2 separate regions of the Homo sapiens genome follow, and region 2 is linked to region 1. The links are contacts of gene promoters, found by promoter capture Hi-C in blood cells and fetal thymus (Javierre and others, 2016). All regions are on one chromosome and are shown on one strand. The core of a region is centred on a gene start or on the middle of the fragment in contact, and the rest is flanking DNA. Distances in the headings are between cores, read along the strand shown. Region 1 holds the start of GJB6 (gap junction protein beta 6). Region 2 overlaps CRYL1 (crystallin lambda 1).

Region 1 (3,889 bases), core at 816-3,315:
GAAGGACAGTGTTCAATGTTAAGGCCATGCAGACTAATATAGATAACCTGAACAGAAAAAGAGATATTTTACACAGTGATGAGATGGTTTCATTTTTGCACACATGAGCAAATGCAACACATTCTCTGTGACAACTTTGGTTTGAAAGTTCTATCCTGCACCAGTCCTAGAACAATTTCCACTGGTCCAGGATGTCAATGCTCAGACACAGTACTGCATGGAATCAGGTGCAGGATTGAGAACAGGGCATGCTTTAGAAAAAGCAAAAGCTATTTCCAGGACTATCTGCTATGCTGGTTCAGCTTTGCCAAGCAATATTCAAATACTCATGGAGCAGCACATACTATGAGCAAAGTACTTAGTATTGTAGAAATGCAAAAGAAGAAGAAGAGGAAGAAAAGCTTAAACTGTTTATAATCCCCAAAGAAGTTTACAATCTGCTTAGAAAAATTATTTTACTATGCAAACAGCTGAGCCTGGCTGAAGCATCTGTTTGGGAGAGGAATGGAGAGAAGACTGGGAAGTCCACAGTTAGATTGTGTGGGGCAGGACAGAGCACCCAAGATTTACCGCATAGGGCACATCTGGGCAGTGTGAGGATGTCTAACAAAAAAGCCTAGAGATGCTCGGCGCGGTGGCTCACGCCTGTAATCCCAGCACTTTGGGAGGCTGAGGCAGGTGGATCACCTGAGGTCAGGAGCTCCAGACCAGCCTGGCCAACATGGTGAAACCCAGCTCTACTAAAAATACAAAACCTAGCCAGGCATGGTGGTGCGGGCCTGTAATCCCAGCGACTCGGGAAGCTGAGGCAGGAGAATCACTTGAACCCGGGAGGCAGAGGTTGCAATGAGCTGAGATCACACCACCACACTCCAGCCTGGGCAACAGAGCCAGACTTAGTCAAAATAAATAAATAAATAAATAAATAAATAAATAAATAAATAAATTTAAAAAGCCTAGAGATTTCTGTGTCTCTCCACTCTCCAAGTTCAAGGCCATTTCAGGGGCCTCCCCAAAGTTTTTAAAACTTGACTTGGGCAAATTCTTTAAGAACCTTGTTCTCCTCAAATAAAATATTTTGGAAAGCGGATTTTTATGAAGTCTTGGCTCAAATTCCATGACCTTTAACAGACATCTTAATTGTTTCGTGGGAGAATATGACCCAACAAGTGGCATATGGTTTAGGTGGGGACGTTTAATTACCGAACAGTTTTGTAGAATAAGCAAGTCACACATCTTTTGTCCGATGCGTGACAGGTTTGAACCTGTAAAGCCAGGTGCCTAAATAGCTTCCAACGTTTCCACCCCACCAGCCCTTGCACCACTCCCTGTACTGGCCCTGAGCTTTCTAGTCTTGACTGAAAAGCGGGGAGGCAATGTGGTCTCTCCTGGTGCACTGTCCCGAGGAAGGCCTGCTCCGCTTCCCCGGAGGAGTCTTCAAAGGATGGAGGTAATTAATAAAAACAACCCCTGTACCTCCTCTAAGTGGTCATTAATTAATAAAGAACCTCCAGGCTCCTATAGGAGAGGTCTGTGCACCCCGCGGGCTATGAGAAGGCTGGATCACCCAGAAAGACTGAGGATGTGTCCTGGCAAAAACACAGCCTGCCCCTCACACTGCTCCCCACGGGTGCACTAGGGAGGAAGAGTTCCCTCGAGGGCCTGAGCAGGCGCCCCACACCTGCACCCGTGCAGAGGGGGCTGGGCCCGCCCTCTGCGCTCCCGAGGGAGAGCCCTACCCCCTGCATCCCCGGTACCCCGTTCCCTCCAAGGGCCGGAAAGAGGGCCCCGCGCACTGTGCACTTCTTAGGGGTCCCCCACCCTGCGCCCCCGCCACGGGAAAAAGGTCCCCGCTCTGCGCATCCGGCCCCGGAGGGACAGCCCCGGTCCTGCACTCCTTGCTCCTCAGGGGGACGGTCCGCGCCCAGCGGCTAGTGCGCCCCGGGTAGGTGGGGGCGGGGGGCTCGTCGAGTGACAGCGCTCGCCTCCCGCAGCCCGCCCGAGCCGCGTCAGGGCAGAGGCGGGGTGGGGCGCGGTTAAAAGGCGCAGCAGGTGGGAGCCGGGGCCTTCACCCGAAACCCGACGAGAGCCCGACAGCCGGCGGCGCCCGAGCCCGACCTGCCTGCCCAGCCGGAGCGAAGGGCGCCGCCCCGCGCAGAGCCCGCGCCAGGGCCGCCGGCCGCAGAGCAGGTAAGCGGGCGCGGACCGGCTGGGTCTTGCGGGGGGCGAGCGGGCGGTGCCACCTCGGCCCCCCAGCGGAGGAATTTCCTCCAAGAAAACAAAACAGGTGAGGTCGGCGGCTGGTCCCCACCTCGCCCCTGTCGCTCCTGTCTGGCACCGGATCAGAGCCGGCAGAGCGCGGCCGGGATGGGTGTCTGGCCGCACGTGGGGCGACCGGGCCCCCGATCTGCCTCTATCCGCACCCTCCTGTCCACGCGCCCCGGCCCCGGCCCGATGGCAGTGGGCGCCGCCCGCGCTGGACCCTCTCTCTGTACGCAGAGGAACGAGGATGGACTGGTTTGACTTTTACCCCAGCGTGGTCCCCTTTGACTTGTACAACAGGTTTTATGAAGGTTTCATATCGTGTGTCTAAGAGGCCAGAGTGAGGGCCGGTGCCCCTTTCCCCCGTTTCATTTGCTGCGTGTTGGATTTTCTAAGCTTTTGTGGGTCACCGGGGTGTCCCCTTGGATTTGGGGAGAAGAAAGCCAGGTCTAGGATGCGGGTTTCAGTTCAGACAAACCCTCAACTTGGGCCGATGCATAAGTCCCCGGAGAACCGCAGGGTATGGGCTGCGTGATGGGCTTCCGAGAAACTTGTGAAATGCTGATGACAATAGCGTGGACGACAGTAATTAAAAGTAATTGGCGACACATCTTAGTTAAAACGTGCAGGCACCAGAAGGCACTTCCTGTCGGTGAAGAAGACCTGTCTCCGGTGTCACGGGCATCCTGTGTTTTGCAAACGGGGCTGACCTCCCTTCCTGGGGAGCAGGAAGGGTCAGGGTGAGTGTGGCCTGCCCGCAGCTCTGCACTCCCGGAGGGGTTAGGGACCTGCAACCAGGCGGGGACACTGGCCCAGCGACCTCAGTGTCCCCTGGGTGGGCGTGCACTCTGTTTAGTGTCTGATTGAACGTAACCGTGCCGGGTTGTTCTTTTCCCTCAAGTAGACTTTATGCCATACAGCTATTTTCTTGCCCCAGTTCTAGCAGAATCTAACCAGTGTTCTAGAAGAAAATGTCCTGCCCCCATGCAGTCTCCTTAGAATTGCAGGGTGCTGCTCAGAACTGCTCCTGTGGAGAGCTTTGTCTGTTGTTTGGATCCAGCAGCGTCTTTGGGGGTGTTGCTTGAAGCTTGCCAAGGAGGAGAGGGGGGTTCTGAAGAGAGAACACCAGGGCTCTAGCCTGTCACATAACTGGGGGTGTGGAGAGCGCCTCATTGCCACTGCAGTGACTAAAGCTGGGAAGACGCTGGTCAGTTCACCTGCCCCACTGGTTGTTTTTTAAACAAATTCTGATACAGGTAATGATGACTTTATGCTTTTTTTCTTATGTCTTCTCTTCTGAATTCTGAGTGTTAGGAAGGAAAAGAAGTACAGAAGATCTGGCTAAACAATTTCTGTATGGCGAAAGAAAAATTCTAACTTGTACGCCCTCTTCATGCATCTTTAATTCAATTTGAATATTCCAGGTGCTGTGAGCAGTTTGCATATATTAGTTTAAATGTTAAATGGGATAAAATTGTGGGAAAGTGATTTCTGACCCAAGCTTCTTGGTCTGTGAGGGCATAACCTTCTAATGGCCACCTGCCATAGGTTATGATTTCTGTTTTAGTTGCTTAGTGCATGAGCATAGACCTGGAACCCCAGAGGGCCTGCTCCATTTTTATTCCCA
Region 2 (3,889 bases), core at 1-2,500, 260 kb before region 1:
ATTTTGGGTTTATACCCAGAAGTTGAATTGCTGGATCATACTGTAATTCTGTTTTTGGGAACTGCCATATCTGTTTTCCATAGCGGTTGCACCATTTTACAGTCTCACCAGCAGTGCACAATGGTTCCAGTTTCTCCACATCCTTGCCAACAATTGCTAGTTTCTATTTTTGGTAGCCCCTAATGGGTGTGAGGTGGTATCTCACTGTGGTTCTGCTTGGCATTTCCCTGATGATTCCTGATGTTGGGCTTTATCTGTTTTTAAATGTGGTGTTGAATACTCACAGTGATCCTTCTCTCTGCCTTTCCAGAAAGGAGATGAAGTTGCTGGAGCAGGCAGGTTCTCTGAAAGGCTCCCTGAGTGTGGAAGAGCAGCTGTCACTCATCAGTGGTTGTCCCAATATCCAAGAAGCAGTAGAGGGTGCCATGCACATTCAGGTGAGTGAAGGACACTGGCGCCGCATCTGTGGGGCCTGAGACATTGTCTCCCAGCCTCTCCGGAGGAACAGGGCAGGATACAGAGCAGTGGCAGGTGTGGGCATTTTGCATCTTCAAGGGCAGGATTTTGTTTTATGTGATAGGAAATGTGATCCCCAAAACACCCTCTATCCTGGGTTCTCATCAAACTAGCGTGACAATGTTCTGTTTCAAGAGACCAATGCCTTATCCGTGAGGCCACTAGGGATTCTGGTGACAATGTTGTATTTTAGAGGCATTAACAGTTTTAGCAAAAATAGGTTTTCTGGACTGCTAATACTATTTTATTTTGTTTTATCATCTTATCAAATGACAGATTATATTATTGTTCTCATATGTAATTGAGCAAAAGCTTACATCATCAAAAAGAAAACCTTTCACTTGCATGTAGCCTTTCCAACAACTTTACTTTAAAAAAGAGAAATCCTCATGAGGGTTGTTTGCACAGCGGGATGAGCCTGGAGAGGTGAGTGGTCCCTGCAGGTGGAGCTGGGAGCAGCCCCTGTGGCTTGGCCCTCTTTCCAGGCATCCCGCTCCTGGAGCTCCTGTGCCCACGCACAGGCCCTGCCCTGTTGAAGAATCCTGAGGCATACCCTTGTCTTTTCAAAGGCTGCACTTACTGCTATAAGGTTTATGCAAATTTACCTAAAGCTAAAAGAGTCATTATTCCCAGTATCTTTCCTTGATATTTTGTGTTCTGAGATTTGCACATTTCACGTCGTTACTCTGTTGATATTCTAGCTGAGAATTTGGAAGCAAACCGAAAAGGCTGTGTGTGTTCTCTGGTCATTTCCTGCTCTAAGATTCGGGTCAAATACAGAAGATGGAGATTTTAGGTCTCTATGACTCTAAAATTTCTTAAAATTGTTAAATTCTCAATTTGCTAAAAATTCATTAAACAAATGTGTGTCACAACAGAACACAAGGAGAGGACTGTTTTTCAACTTCTTATCTCTTTCTAATATATTATCCTCTATCTCTTGATATGGTGAAGTTTGTATGAAGTTGAAGGGACTTTAAAGAGACCTGAGGGCTCCTAATGAGTTCCCAGTGCCACCTGTTTCTACCCGTAGTTGCAGGTGCTATAAGAGGAGTTGCTTCTGAAGAGCACAGATGTTCTCCAGGCCTGGTCTTGGCAGAGTTGCTTCTGAAGAGCACAGATGCTCTCCAGGCCTGGTCTTGGCAGAGAAGCTTCTTTCACATGAATTTAGTTTTATTTTTTATTTTTTTGAGACAGAGTCACTCTGTTGGCCCAGGCTGGAGTGCAGTGGTGTGATCTCGGCTCATTGCAGCCTCCACTTCCTGGATTCAAGCGATTCTCCTGTCTCAGCCTGTGGAGTGGCTGGGATTACAAGTGTGCACCACCACACCCAGCTAATTTTTGCAGTTTTAGTAGAGACAGGGTTTCACCATGTTAGCCAGGCTGGTCTCAAACTCCTGACCTCAAGTGATCCGCTGGCCTTGGCCTCTCGAAGTGCTGGGATTACAGGCGTGAGCCACGGTAAACTGCATGAGTTAAGTTTTTTTTGCTTTTTGTTTTTTGTTTTTTTTTGAGATAGAGTCTCGCTCTGTCACCCAGGCTGGAGTTCAGTAGTGTGATCTTGGCTCATTGCAACCTCCGCCTCCTGGGTTCAAGCGATTCTTGAGCCTCAGCCTCCCAAGTAGCTTGGATTATAGGCATAAACCACTGTTCCCAGCCGTGAGTTTAGTTTTTAAGGAAAGTATTTAGTTATATAATGTGATTGAAATATTAATAAGTGATCTATTATTATAATATTTCTACTTTCACATTTCACAGAATGCTTTTGTTCAAACTCTGGGCTGATATCTCCAACTTCAGCATGTTTGTCTTCATTACAATCACTTTTTGAGTCTCTCTGAACAGAGTTCCCAGACCATGTTACCTTTGCCTCTTGGAGATGTTTGCTATGCAGAGCTTTTTGAACCCATCTACAATGCTGGCACTGCAAATTTTATCCCCAGCCTCAAAGACTAATTCTCAAACATTTAGATGTTTTTTCCTTTTGTAATAATACACTTGTGATTCCATAGCATGGCAACTTGCTGTGCTTTTTTTTTTCTTTTAAAGAATCTTTCTATAGCTACTTTATAAATTTCCTAGCAGTAACAATTGTAAAGTCATCCCCTAGGAATAATTCATCTATCCATGTTAAATTTCTTTGTCTCCCCATCCCATTTTTTTGATAGTTTATCATATGATTTCTATAAACATCCAAAACTACCCTAACTGAATTAGTTCTGGTTAATGTGTCTCCCTCAAAGAGTATATTGTTTTTTATAAAGTGGTGAACCCTCCATAATATGAGAACATTATAATAGACTTGGGTAATAAGGCAAGTTTTTCTGTTAAAGAGTAATTTGGGGGGAATATGTGAATTTAGAAGGCATGTAAAGCACTTACATAGTACTTGGCACACAGAAAATGCTCAGGAAATGGTAATTATTTTATAATGTGGCCATTTATAACAATTTTGGTAATAAAGAATGACATGGGGCAGTATATGGCGTTCTGTACATGGTTGGCACTAGTGAAAACTGCTCTTTAACTACAGTCTATCTTTATTTTATAGATTAAATGAGTGTATTTACAAGGCATGACATGTTGAGCCATATCTATTATGTAGAACACAGAGCCAAGCCGGATGAGGAGAGGAAACTAGAGAAAGATGATGTAAACTAGTAGGTTTAATTCCTATGAGAGTTTATATTCTTCAGAAATTGTTGTACCTCCAGTACCAGAGAAAGGAGTGGGTAGGAATAGTTCTGACCGGGAGGCTTCGGGAAGGTTTAATGCAGGTAGGATTAGAGCTTGTCTTGACTTTTGACAAGTGGATTTTGGGGTGGGGGTGGGAGGATTGTGTGGGAGGAAGAGATGAATGAGATGAGAAGTCCCTTTGAGGATGTTTCTAAGGCCACGTTACAGACCCATTGGAAAGGTAGGAAAGGCTGGTCCAAGGTGGAAACCAAGTCGCCATGCTACGAATGCCAACCTGAAGAATTACTTAGGTGAATTGAGTAATACACAGTGCTTAGAGGAGTACACGAAGAGAAGCACCATTTATGTGTTTCTTTAAAGAAATAAAGATGAAGGCTGGGTGTGGTGGCTCACGCCTGTAATCCCAGCACTCTTGGGAGGCTGAGGGTGGCGGATTGCTCGAGCTCAGGAGTTCAAGACCAGCCTGGCCAATATGGTGAGACCTCATCTCTACTGAAAATACAAAAACTTAGCCGGGTGTGGTGGCATGTGCCTGTGGTCCCAACTACTTGGGAGGCTGAGGTGGGAGGATTTCCTGAGTCTGGGAGGTGGAGGTTGCAGTGGGCCGAGATCAGGCCACTGCACTCCAGCCTGGGCAACTGGAGTAAGACTCCATCTCAAAAAACAAACAAACAAA

What was found. The method cuts DNA at HindIII sites, captures the fragments that hold promoters and counts their contacts. A CHiCAGO score of 5 or more calls a contact.
Region 2: a fragment that was not itself captured here is called in contact with the fragment with the promoter of GJB6 in region 1 in 9 of 17 cell types (M0 macrophages, naive CD4 T cells, fetal thymus and 6 more); the score reaches 13.3 in M0 macrophages.

What each region holds. Positions count from the first base shown.
Region 1 is chr13:20,230,495-20,234,383 of GRCh38, reverse strand. It overlaps GJB6 (gap junction protein beta 6), which reads left to right and starts at 2,065. Exons shown (of 5, transcript NM_001110219.3): 1 at 2,065-2,190; 2 at 2,879-3,002; 3 at 3,577-3,686. The HindIII fragment of the contact is 2,257 bases long and covers 404-2,660 here.
Region 2 is chr13:20,485,918-20,489,806 of GRCh38, reverse strand. It overlaps CRYL1 (crystallin lambda 1), which reads left to right. Exons shown (of 8, transcript NM_015974.3): 3 at 311-437. Among named protein-coding and RNA genes, the nearest start is that of CRYL1, 38 kb to the left of the region's middle. The HindIII fragment of the contact is 839 bases long and covers 831-1,669 here.